3 separate regions of the Homo sapiens genome follow, and all the other regions are linked to region 1. The links are contacts of gene promoters, found by promoter capture Hi-C in blood cells and fetal thymus (Javierre and others, 2016). All regions are on one chromosome and are shown on one strand. Each heading gives the region's core, a stretch centred on a gene start or on the middle of the fragment in contact. The rest is flanking DNA. Distances are from core to core; before and after follow the strand shown. Region 1 holds the start of PLCG2 (phospholipase C gamma 2). Region 2 overlaps GAN (gigaxonin). Region 3 overlaps GAN (gigaxonin).

The links. Contacts are between HindIII fragments. The CHiCAGO score rates a contact against its expected background, and 5 or more counts as called.
Region 2: a contact is called between a fragment that was not itself captured here and the fragment with the promoter of PLCG2 in region 1, in 1 of 17 cell types (neutrophils). The highest score is 6.2, in neutrophils.
Region 3: a contact is called between a fragment that was not itself captured here and the fragment with the promoter of PLCG2 in region 1, in 5 of 17 cell types (total B cells, naive B cells, neutrophils and 2 more). The highest score is 8.6, in total B cells.

The regions. Positions count from the first base shown.
Region 1 is chr16:81,777,680-81,781,837 of GRCh38, reverse strand. It overlaps PLCG2 (phospholipase C gamma 2), which reads right to left and starts at 2,547. Exons shown (of 33, transcript NM_002661.5): 1 at 2,414-2,547. RefSeq lists silencers at 2,242-2,321, 2,332-2,431, 2,462-2,731, 2,760-3,054. The HindIII fragment of the contact is 8,410 bases long and covers 1-4,158 here.
Region 2 is chr16:81,386,606-81,391,082 of GRCh38, reverse strand. It overlaps GAN (gigaxonin), which reads right to left. Exons shown (of 11, transcript NM_022041.4): 11 at 274-4,477. Among named protein-coding and RNA genes, the nearest start is that of MIR4720, 3.8 kb to the right of the region's middle. RefSeq lists a silencer at 4,015-4,209. The HindIII fragment of the contact is 7,296 bases long and covers 1-4,477 here.
Region 3 is chr16:81,368,002-81,372,113 of GRCh38, reverse strand. The region is part of intron 9 of GAN (gigaxonin); the gene reads right to left. Among named protein-coding and RNA genes, the nearest start is that of MIR4720, 15 kb to the left of the region's middle. The HindIII fragment of the contact is 4,266 bases long and covers 696-4,112 here.

The DNA of each region.
Region 1 (4,158 bases), core at 1,298-3,797:
CAAAACCAGAAATCAAGGAAGTTTTTGTCTCTTCAGTGCTCTGTGCATGGTAAGCCAGTACAGGATTTCATCCAAAAATCCCACAAGACAATTGTGTTAAAATGGAGCACAGGCAAATACTTGAGTGGTAAGGGCCCCTCCAACAGTTCAAGGGACATTACTGCTGCACCTTACACCCACCCTGCAGCATTAGAGGGAATACACTATTTTCAAAGGAATGGTGTCAGCCACTGCAAGTGAGAGTGTAAATTCCACCCCTGCTCCTTTAGGGCAACCTGTGAGCAGCTACTAAAAAGCAAAACACGCATATGCTTCGATCCTGCAATTGTACATGTAAAGAAAGACATGCACAAAGATGCAATATGTACGACAGAAAATCACGGAAGCAATAGTTGCAATAGAAATACAAAAAAAGAAAAAAAAACAGAAAACAACTGCTCATCAATGTGGGGGGCCTCCTGGATAAATAATGGTGCACATGCACTGAAGAACGCTCAGTAGCCATCAGAAAGAATGAGGATGATAGATAAGCAATTTGATCTGGAAAGATTTGTGAGGTCAATAAAAAAATAGCTTCAGACAATAGTTGCAACTGTATGAGTATAATACAATTCCCTTTTTATAAAGGTGATCTTCTGGTAAATCCAGGAGAGTGGTTACTATTTATCGGAGGCTGGGAGAGGGTAGAGGATACAACTTGACTTTATTTATATTAACTGATGATGTAACGGGCAAATTTTTCTCTTTGTGTTCTTGCTGTTTTCTAAATTAAGAAGTGTTTGTGTGTGTTTGTTTGTTTGTTTGTTTGTCTTGAGATGGAGTCTCTCTTGTCACCCAGGCTGGAGTGCAGTGGCATGATCTGGGTTCACTGCAACCTCCACCTCCTGGGTTCAAGTGATTCTCCTGCCTCAGCCTCCTGGGTAGCTGGGATTACAGGCGGCCACCACCACGCCCAGGTAATTTTTGTAGTTTTAGTAGAGATGGGGTTTCACCATGTTGGTGAGGCTGGTCTGGAACGCTTGACCTCAAGTGATCAGCCCAGCTCGGCCTCCCAAAGTGCTGGGATTACAGGTGTGAGCCACCGTGCCTGACCAAGAAATGTTTTCAAAAGTTTTCTCACCAGCAGCTTTTCATTGACTCTACCCAATGAGTGCAAAAGGGCTATTCATGGGGTCTGTGCTTTTCCACTTCCAGAGGAACTGCCCATACTCCAGTCGCTGGTGGGGGAAGGCAGCTGCATCATTAGGTGACTTAAACATCAGTGAGGCTCACAATGACGATTGTCCCTGAGCTGGTATACACGTGACTGCACACACACCTTTGCAAGAGAAACTGCTTGAGGCTGGCATAGACTTCAAAATTCTGTAAAACTTCCCCGCAGAACTGTAGTCAAGGACGAGGGCCCATGCCCCAGAGAATGCCCTTGAACCAGAGAGTCAGGAACTGCCCAAGGACTCTCCATGGATGCGCCCCGATTCTCAGCGAACCTCGTGGAACAGCAATAAGCCCCAATTCTCGACACAGCCCTGGAAAATTGGGTGGCTCCAGTATCCAGAGGGGGAAACAGACTCAAAAAGGTTCTTCAACTTGCCCAGGGTCCCACTGATGGAACTGAAATTCAAATTAAGTTCCGACGGGCAAGGCCACCTGTTTCCCTCGCGCCATGTCACCCCTTTACCACCCCGCCCCCCATAGTTTCTCACCCTAGTTCAAGATTAGGGTACCAAGAGAGCCCCGCCCCACCGTCCTGCTGGAATCCAGGAGCTCCCCGTCCAAACGGGGCACGTCTTTAACCTGAACTCTTGCGCTGTGCGGGTAATGCCCTCTTTGGGATTCCAAAACACAACAAAACACAACACGCACAGACACACGCATAATTACGCAGACAGCTGCGGAGCGGGCATCGCGAGTGTCCTGCAAGCTCTCCAAAAGTCTCCGGGAAGGACTGCGCCTCCCGCGGTATCGCTCCCACCCGCCACCCGCAACCACCGAAGTGAGACAGGGAAGTGTGGCTCCGAGCGTCCGCGAGCTCTGGGCACAAGGGCCGTCAAGAGAGACGGCGCCACCCCACGCAGAGCCGCTCGAAAAGAGGAGTTTTGAACGCCAGCCCCCACACGACCCCTGACCTTCCTCCCGGTCCCCATTCAAAGCTGGGGCCGCCCCACCGCACGGACCGGAGAGGTGGCGCCGGCCCGGGGTGAGGAAGTGGCCAGCGGCTGGGCCAGGATCCCTGCCGTCACCAAACGGACCCCGGGCACGGCGGGCCGGGGTCCCCGAGGGTGCGCCCCGTCCCTGCCCGCTCCGGCTGAGCCAGGACGCAGACCCCCTCGGACGCAGCGCCCTGGGAGCCGGTCCCCGCGGGGCGCAGGTCCCTGGGCGCCCTGCCTGCCTCGCTCCCGGCCGGGCAGCTCACCTGGCCGTGCCGCCCGGGCACAGCTGCCCGCCTGCCCCGGGTTTGGGCTCCGGGGTCCCGCGCGCGCAGCCCGCGTCCCGACTCGGGTCACTCAGCGCCGCTCACGCCCTCCGCCGCCGGCGCTCGCTACTTCTGCTTCGGCCGCGGCGCCGCGCCACGTGATCCTCGGGGGCCGCCCCCCGCACCGCCCAGCCTCGCCCCGCCTCGCCCCGCCCCAGGCGCGCCCAGCCGGGTCCGCCTCTCGGAGCGCACCCCGAGTGCAGCGTCCCCGCGCCCTCCCCGCCATGGAGCGGCCCAGGCCTGGAGCCCCGCCTCTGCGTGCCAAAGAAGAAACTGAGGCAACCCGAGGGGAGGCTACCTGCCCGAGGCCACTTGGCCAGGTGCAAAGGGAATTCCCCAATATCATGGCATTCCTGGAGAGCCGGCCGCAGTCCAGGTGTTTGCCGTATACTTAACACACTCCCGGCCGGGCGCCCGGGCTCACGCCTGTCATCCCAGCTCTTTGGGAAGCCTAGACGGGAGGATCGTCTGAGCTCGAGAGTTCGAGACAGCAATGAGCTAGGATGGGTGTGGCCGAGAGACACTCCGTCTCAAAAATAAATAAATAAAAATTAAAAATAAATATACTCTTCACAATTACCCGCCAGGAATTGCCAATTCATGGCCCTAATTTGAAGCCCTCGTTGAGGCTGCGCTGGAGTCAGACCAACCCTTACTGCTACCTTAGGCAGACCACTTAAAAACCGACAGCCTCAGTTTCCCCATCTGTAAAACGTGATCAACATAGTGCCAGCCCCAAAGGGAGTCAGGAGCAAAGAACCCCAGACAATTGATGTCCCGTTTTCCTGATCTCATGGGAAGAAGCTAATATGTTCTTTAAGAAATTTATTTTTCCGTTCGTGTGTTGCATGAAGCTATCTGATTCAAACCCTTCCTATGCTCTTTGATGGAGGTATCTTTGTTGTGACTAGAGGCAGTTTCAGGGGCACCTAGACAGCTGTCAGGCACTTGAATTTCACTTCCAAGTTGCTTGAGTTATAGCTTCTGTTTTCTAAGAGGCAGGGTCTCACTCTGTCACCCAGGCTGGAGTGCAGTGGTGCCATCATAGCTCACCACATCCTCGAACTCCGGGACTCAAGCGATCCTCCTGCTTCTGCCTCCTGAAGAGCTGGGACTATAGAGGCACACCACACTTGGCTAATTTTCTCTTTTTTCGACATGAGGTCTCACTATGTGTCCCAGGCTGTTCTTGAACTCCTGACCTCAAGCAATCCTCCTGCCTCTACCTCCCAAAGCACTGGGATCACAGGCATGTGCCACTGGTCTGTTATAGCGTTTTTTTTGTGTGTGTGTGTTTTTGGTTTTTTTTGTTTTTTTTTTTGTTTTTTTTTTGTTTTTTTTTTTTTTTGAGACAAAGTCTTGCTCTCTTGCCCAGGCTGGAGTGCAGTGGCACGATCTCGGCTCACTGCAACCTCCACCTCCCAGGTTTAAGCGATTCTCCTGCCTCAGCCTCCTGAGTAGCTGGGATTATAGGTGTATGCCATCATGCTTGGCTAATTTTTTGTATTTTTACTAGAGACGCGGTTTCACTATGTTGGCCAGATTGGTCTCAAACTCCTGACCTCAAGTGATCCACCCACCTTGGCCTCCCAAAGTGCTGGGATTACAGGCATGAGCCACTGCACCCGGCCTGTTATAGCGTTTTTTAATTGAGGAATATCACTCTCACTGTCAATGTTGTATCC
Region 2 (4,477 bases), core at 1,007-3,506, 390 kb after region 1:
GTCAGCCATGGAAAGACTCAGGCAGTCAGCCATGGAGAGACTCAGGCAGTCAGCGATGGAGAGACTCAGGCAGTCAGCGATGGAAGAGGCTCAGGCAGTGACTGGGGTGTGGCTGCTAAGGGACGGATCTAACATCACAAGCCACGGTCTAGGAGCTGACACCCACACCGTGTAAATGACAGAAACGACAACGTTTCATTCTTAAATCAAATCAAGCTGTATTGATAATGATGATTTAGCAGGAACCACTCTAAAAATCAGAAACAATTAGAATGCCTTCCCCATCAAATTATTTTATTAGGTTAATTAAACAGCTTAAAGATGATTCCTTTTGTGTGGTACCCTTCTAGAAAATATTTCAAGTTTTTAAGTGAACTTCCAATACATAAAACAAAATTACTTTAGCATACACAAATTTCAGATCAAAATACAACACTCTGTTTCTGTTTTCTTACAGTTATAAAATCCAGTCAATACAAACTACATAAAAAAGATAAAACACTTTCACTGATCCTTGGTACAAGAGAACAGCATGATGGCAAAATGTTCCCCAAGCACAGGTCCTGGGTTCGTGAGAAGGGACCAACCCCACAATATACTGAAGCATGTAAACAAAGTGCGTGCTACTTAATTTAGGTTAACAAATCCTTTTTGCATCAGTATTACTTGTAAACCATAAAGCAACTTTTAAAAAGAAAGGTTATTAATTAAAAATTACTTCTGACTGCTAAATTTCTTATCAGCAAGTGAACAGAAAATTATTCCACAAAACAAACTAGTACCTTTGGACCACAGGATGTGAGACGTGACATTTCAATGAAATCAACTTAGCACGACTTCTCTACTATCCTACTGAACTTGGGGAGTACAATTTTACAAGTTGCAGCCTTCTAGCACTTCCAATATTTTGAACTTTCTAAACCTGCCTATTTAGCTATGATTTTCATTGCAAATCCCTGTTTTTCAGTAGTAGGACTTTATTAAAGATAGGATAATATCACACACAATACAATCTTCACTGAATATGTGTCTAAGCAGACCTACTTGGAATTCTACTAGATAATAAAGTTGCAGGATTTAAAAGAAATACTATTCTGCAGGTCCCATGTCAGAAAACACAGATATGTTCAACAGATTGGTGTGGTATTTATATGGTATTCGTGGCATTTTCCTTATAGTATTCAAAGCATCAAAATGACAAATCAAGACTGTTAAAAACCAGTCTTGGACAAGGGTGACAGTCACATACTCGAGGGTCCAGCACAACACTGGCATGAGCCAACAGGAGCCACGCCGGCCACCTGCTGGGCCAGGGACCACTGCAAAGAGCAGCCCTGAATTTGGGAGGGTCAAATCGAATTTACAAATCTTGTTTTCAGGAATTTCCTTGATAGTTCTCTTTCATGGCAGAAGACCTATACCCGTGATGGAAAACAAAAGAATGTACACATTTCTAGTGTGTCATGAATGGGTCTCACTCACAGATAGGTACAGACATCACTGTCACTGCTAACACACAATGAAGTCTGCCTACGCCTACCTGAGGAGCATCCGCGATACCGTTTCTGATGAGGACAGGACTCTGCGGAGGTGGGCAGAGCAGGGGGTGCTTTTGTCAGCTCTGCTGGTCACTTCCAGGCTGCTGGTACACACCCCAACAGTGGCTGCAAAGATTGTTCAAAACTTCTGCTGAGGCCACAATGATTACGGGATGGTTGTCACAATTCACAAAAGGTATGATACAAAAAACAAAGGGTATCACCATTACGTCGCCGGCGAACTGAAGGGGTACAAGACCGAGGAACCAAACACAAGCTGAATTCAAAACGAAAAGAACCCCAGTGGCAGAAAAAGCCACGAATTATTTAATGAAGCAAGTTGTGCTAATAAACAGCCTGTGCTTTTCTTAACTGAAGGTCACTTGATACATTTCCCAACACACAATTTTTATTCAGATTATCTTTGTTTTCATGGAGAGCCTGAATTTTGAGGTACGATCTAGGAAAAAGATGTTATCACCCACACAAATGGAAGGCTCACTTCTTTACTTCTTAAGCTGATGATACCCTTTTGCCCGCCCCATGTACCAGATCCTACATGATTTTTTAAAATAAAACATAAGTCAATTTCAATGAGCATATGCTAGACTAACAATAAATTTATTTTTTGGAGTTTCTTTTGAAGCACAAATTCCTTTTAAAAAAAATATGAAAAGGTGGTCTCTCCTGGAAACAAGCAGTTCTAGTTTCCGATCCCACAACGATTTGGAACATAGTGTGTTTTTAAGTCAGAGCTGAAGAGGAAAGAAGGAAACAAGGGCTGCGCTCCGCTCTGGCGAATGCGAGCTGCAAAGGGACAGAGGAGGACCCACACGGAGGGTCCCCACCCGGCTCTGCGGACAGACATGGCAGAGGGCCTGTCACACAAGAGGCCACCGGGCCGAGCACGTCCGGGAGCCTGGGGCTGCACTGGGTGCTGAGGTAGTGAGCGGGGCCTGTGCCTGCCTGCCCTCCCGGCTTGGAGGGGGAGCCCTGAGGGCCTCTGGGGCTGGCCTGGAAGGTGTCATTCTAGCCTACAGGTGCCTAAGGCGCTGGGATGTGTCCTTGGCGGTGCCTCAGAAGGCACCTGGGTCCAAGTTCTGACCTGGAGCCTTGGGGACAGATCTGACTCTCACAGCCAGGGCCAGCTGGTTGTGGAAAGTGCTAGTATGCAGGTCTGCTCAGGGATCTGTGAGGCTCATGCTCTGGCCATTATGTGGTCTGAAGAACCAGAAGGGCTATTCTCCTCGCCCCCAACAACCCGCCCCAACTGCACCTTTCTTTTCCTTTTTATTTTGGATACATAATTCAAGCAGTAAAAAAACCAGGCTGGAAGAGGGTTGGGACAGAGGAGCAGAGGGCAGGGTGGGAAAGCTATCCCAAGAAGAGTGAGTAAAAACAACGACTCCGAACATGGCCAAAATACCCTTCCTCCACCTTGACGGCAATCCCTAAGCTGGCAGAGAAAGATGCGCCGACTGCGAAGTGCCTGTTTTCTCAGAGATTCCACCTAGCAGTGTCCATGGGGAGCCACAGTGGAACATGGAGAGAACAATCAAGGCTGGTTCAAACGAAAGGTTATTCACCAGTGAAAGAAACGGGGAGAAGACACAGCCGGCTAGCTCTGAAGACATGGTGTGCATCCCAGCCTATAAATCTCTAATGATCTTGATCCCGTGTTTCCCCTATTTCTGAGCAGACCTTTTTTTTTAATTTTTTATTTTTTTGTGAGACAGAGTCCCCCTCTGTCGCCCAGGCTGGAGTACAGTGGCACAATCCTGGCTCACTTCAACCTCTGCCTCCTGGGGTCAAGTGATTCTCCTCCCTCAACCTCCCGAGTAGCTGGGATTACAGGGGCCCACCAACACACTCGGCTAATTTTTGTATTTTTAGTAGAGACGGGGTTTCACCATGTTGGCCAGGCTAGTCTTGAACTCCTGACCTCAAGTGATCCACCTGCCTTTGCCTCCCAAAGTGCTGGGATTACAGGCGTGAGCCACTGCACCCGGCCTGAGCAGATCAAAAACAAGGCAAGAGGGGTCAGGACACACAGGCAGAGGCTCGTTCCCTCTCCTTCCAGAGCTGAGAATAAAACTGCAGTAGACTTTCACCAGGGAGGAGGACAAGACAAAACCATGACAACAATCAGGTCCCTTGGTGACGACGTGCCCCATCAGCAAGGCTACCCACCTACGGAGTGGGAAGGTTGCCGTGCCAACCTCCCCTAGGGCAGGAGAAACAACTGGCATATGTTCAAATGATCAATATCCCACCCCCCGCAACAAAACTTTTTTCTGAAATTTCATATAGCAACGTGCTTTCTTGAACCGAGACGTAAGACTTTACATTTAGCCATTACACTATGAAGAGTATTGCAGATCTAACACCCAACACATCTTGCCCAGCACTCTTCTTTGCCTTCTATATTTTTATTCAAGTTATGGATACAAATGTCAAACAGGATGCTGCTAGAGTAGCTCACCTTAAGTGATCTTGCCAAAGATCCGTTCTTGCCAACACTGTCTGAACCTGGCTATTCAGCCGACTTCTCGGTCCTTTGTTAAATCCTACTTCTACTTCCCTTTCTTTCTTTTCTTTTGAGATGGAGTTTAGCCCTTGTTGCCCGGCTGGAGTGCAACGGCACCATCTCGGCTCACCGCAACCTCCGCCTCCTGGGTTCAAGAGATTCTCCTGCCTCAGCCTCCCGAGTAGCTGGGATTACAGACATGTGCCACCATGCCCGGCTAATTTTGTATTTTTAATAGAGACGGGGTTTCTCCACGTTGGTCAGGCTGGTCTCAAACTGCCGACCTCAGGTGATCTGCCCGCCTTGGCCTCCCAAAGTCCTGGGATTACAGGCGTGAGCCACCGCGCCCGGCTGTTCTACTTCCTTTTCACATTCAGAGATCAAGAATGACTTTATCAAATGTCTTATTGAA
Region 3 (4,112 bases), core at 1,579-4,078, 410 kb after region 1:
AGAGACAGGGAAGTAGAAGGGGAATGACAGGAAAGGAGAGAGGAAGAGAGCTATAGAGGAAAAGAGGGCAATCAATTGAGGAGAAAGGAGAGGAGGAAAGAAAAAGAGAGCTGTAGTGAGGCGTCTGCTTCCAGTATGGCAGAAGTAACTCTTAACAAATGGCTCCTCAGTTGCTCCAAGTGTCAGCCGTAAACTCTGGACAAACTACAACTACCTGAGCACTCTGGAAACTGAAGAAAAGCAGGTAGATTCTGGAAAGAAATGGAAAGTTAATTGAGCAAGCAACCCATATGGACTAAGTTTCCTGTTTCTTGGTAGCTTTCTCTGAAGGCAGCCTCACTGGGGCAGCTCTGGATAGCTAAACCCCTAGAGAAAATATGGCCATCTTTCTGGCTACAGGACTCAGCAATCAGGAAAAGGGGTCTTGGGGCAACCAGGATCTCCAAAGTGTGGTGGAGAACCTGAGAAAGAGGAGAGGTAGAGAAGCACCCCTCAATTTGTGCGCATCCACTCATCTCAAGTCTTCAACTAACCCTGGAACCATCTATGCTTATGACCGAGGCTTCGAGAACTGGACTGAGATTTCAGCTGCCACCCATGGCAGGTGGCACAGCTTGCAATTTAAGTCTAACCAAGTCAATTGCTGACTAAAACTCAGAGCAACACTCTAAAGCAATATAAGAAAATTCAAAGCTTCAAAAACATAATAGTAACCATATCCAGGATTCAGTCCAGAACTCCTCAACAGAAGAAGAGCCAGAAAAATTAGAACCCATTTCTCAAGGGAGCAAACAATCAATAGACGCCAACTCTTGAGATGACTCAGATACTGGAATTAACAGGCAAGGACTTGAACACAACTACCACAGTGATGCTCAGTAAGGGAAAGGAAAATATGCTTGTGATGGAAAGATAGGAAATTTCAGCACAGAAAATTTAAAAACCTAAAAACAAAGTACACAAACATTTTAGAATTACTAACATAAATAAATAACTAACATAAATTTGAAATAAAAAATTCACTGGATGGAAATAACAAAAGAAAGCAGCAGCAAACAAGACAGAGCAACAGAAACCATCCAATCTGAAGAAGGAAAAATGATACTGCAGACTGAATGGTCATGAAAATAAAACATATCAGCATGTCCAGCTAGAGTGGTGCTCTGTGGAAAGTTGAAGGCTTTCATGGTGTGCCTTAGAAAAGCAAAAGATCTACCATAAGTAATCTAGAATTCTACCTGAAGAAGCTAGAAAAGAGTAAAAGAAACCCAAAGTAAGTAAAAGGATGGAAGTAATATAGATGAGTGTAGGAATCAATGAAACAGAAAATACTAGGGAGAAATGAACCCAGTGTAGAAGCTGGTCTTTTGTTCACAGAGGGTGCAGACTGGCAAGGCCAGGGGCCAAAGGGCCACTATGCCGCTGTCGGCTGCCTTCCTCTCACTCCTCCTGTGCTTGCTCCTACCAGCATGCAGGAGACCAGGGGTGCACACTCTCCAGCGGCCTCAGCACACACACTTCCAATGGGATGAATCTCAGCCCTGTGGGATGGGGAAAATACTTCCTGATTTGTTCCTTCCTTGGGTGTTTTCCCTCTGCCCTAAAGGTAGCAGCTGTGCTTCCTACATTAGCTATTTCTACAGTTTTCAGAGTCCTCTTTTCCCACTTTTAGCAGCTGTCTCTTACTAGTGGTAATTACATATATTACATTTTCCCTGTTCAAAAGACTGGTGTGGTTTTTGCCACTTGACTGGACCATGACTGAAACAGATGTGGTTGGGGGTGGGGTTCATCTTTTATCCTCTAGTTCACACGTCTTACAAAGGCATCTGAAAGTACCTGTTTCTTCCTAACCATAAGATACAAACAGCACAATGTGGTCAGTGGGGTAGACCAGTGAGATGTTTTGTGGAACATCATGATGATTAAAATCTCTGTGGACTAATATACAGCCGACATTAGCCCATTATATATTAGTTGATACAGCCCTGAGGCAAGGCTGTGGAGGCATACTGTTGCCCCTGACAAGTAAAAGCAAACTGCTTCTGGTGACCCTTGCAAATTGGTATGAAGAAAATACATTAGCTATGTCAACGGCTGCCATACTAAGGTTGGGAACTGTGCCTCATAAAGATACAACATTTGTGTGAGGATATTACGTCTGGGAAAGAATTTGGGATCAGTATGATCACCTGATTAAGTTTATGAAAACTTTCTCTGTGTGCATTAAAAAAGCAAAACATCGGCTGGGCGCGGTGGCTCATGCCTGTAATCCCAGCACTTTGGGAGGCCGAGGCGGGCAGATCAAGAGGTCAGGAGATCGAGACCACGGTGAAACCCTGCCTCTACTAAAAATTAGCTGGGCGCGGTGGCGGGCGCCTGTAGTCCCAGCTACTCAGGAGGCTGAGGCAGGAGAATGGTGTGAACCCGGCAGGTGGAGCTTGCAGTGAGCCGAGATCACGCCACTGCACTCCAGCCTGGGCAACAGAGTGAGACTCCGTCTCAAAAAAAAGCAAAAGATCTACCATGAGTAATGTAGAATTCTACCCAAAGAAGCTAGAAAAGAGTAAAAGAAACCCAAAGTAAAAGGAAAACCTAAAAACAAGCTACACAAACATTTTAAAATTGATAACATGTTTGAAATAAAAATTTTCCAAGATTTTCCGAGATCCACTTTACTTTTCTACTTTTTCTAGGTGAATTAAGTGGGGATGTGATAGGCATCACCTCTCCTGCATTTTCTACTCTTTCATGGTGGCATGGTTTTTGCAGATTCACCCAGGATGCAGTATTGTTTCTGGTTTTCTATTTTGGTAGGGAAGCAGAGCTCCGGGGACTTCCACTTAGCCCTTGTTGTCATGGTGGCTCCCAATCCATGTGTCAGAGAACCAGCATGGTGATTTTGCCAGTTGTCAAGTATGTCTATTCTAGTTATATATTCAGGAATCAAAAGAGGAAACTGACAGATCTCAACTTCAAAGAACAGTTAATTTAACTTATATACTGTAAAAAATTAAAGTAGAGGGGCATCTAGGCTAAGCGAATGCACGGAGGCAGTAAAACACAAGAGGATTTAAAAAGTGAGCTGGAGTATACGATATGTGAAAGAAAGATACTAAAAAAGGGTGAAACTTTTTCTTAACCTCAAATCATGGAGAACCCTGAGTAGGTGGCTAAGAACTATTACCTTTGTTTAGTAAGCAGTGGGAAACAGTCAAGAATTCTGAGAAGGGCAATCAAAAACTCTGAGCAAAAAGGTATGTGCCACTATGCCTGGCTGATTTTTGTCAGGTTCATCTTTCAAAACCACAAATAAGTAACTGCACTGGCAAGGCTGGCCAGAGGCTAATGACACTACACAGATGCAGGAATAACTGTGAGGGTAGCAGCGGGGCAGGGAAGGTGGGAAATGTGAAAAATGCTACCAAGATTTAAAAAAGGACCAGACCTGGCAACTGATGAGTTGCAAAGTACAAGACAGAATTCAAGATGATTCCCTTTTCTGAGACAGGGTCTTGCTCTGGCACTCAGGATGGAGTGTAGTGGCACGATCATGGTCTACTGCAGCTTCCACCACTTCCCAGGCTCAAGTGATCCTTCTGCCTCAGCCTTCCAAGTAGCTGGGACCACAGGCGTGGACTACCATGTTCAGCTCATTTTTGAATTTTTTCAAAATTCATAGAGACAAGGTCTCACTATGTTACTCAGGGTTGTCTTGAACTCCTGGGCTCAAGGGATCCTACCACCTGGGTCTCCCAGAGTTCTGGGATTATAGGTGTCAGCCACTGTGCCAGCCAAGATGACCCTTTTTTGAACATGGATGACTGGGAGGATAGTAGTGTTACTAACAGAATATGGACACAAGGAACAGAAATAGAGAAACCGTCATTCTGGGTATATGAAGCTGTTGCTCTGGCTTGGTAATACTTTATGGCAATTTCTTTGCTTTCCTTTCAAGCAGTTTTGCTTTTATTCAGAAAAACAGAAAAGAATAAGATATGGCTTTTTTCCCAGAAAGTTTTAACCTAAAAATAGGGAACAAAGACAGGAAAGACAAGAGATTACTTAAAAACAATCGACATGGTCTCCAATCAAATATGGACTGCTCATCC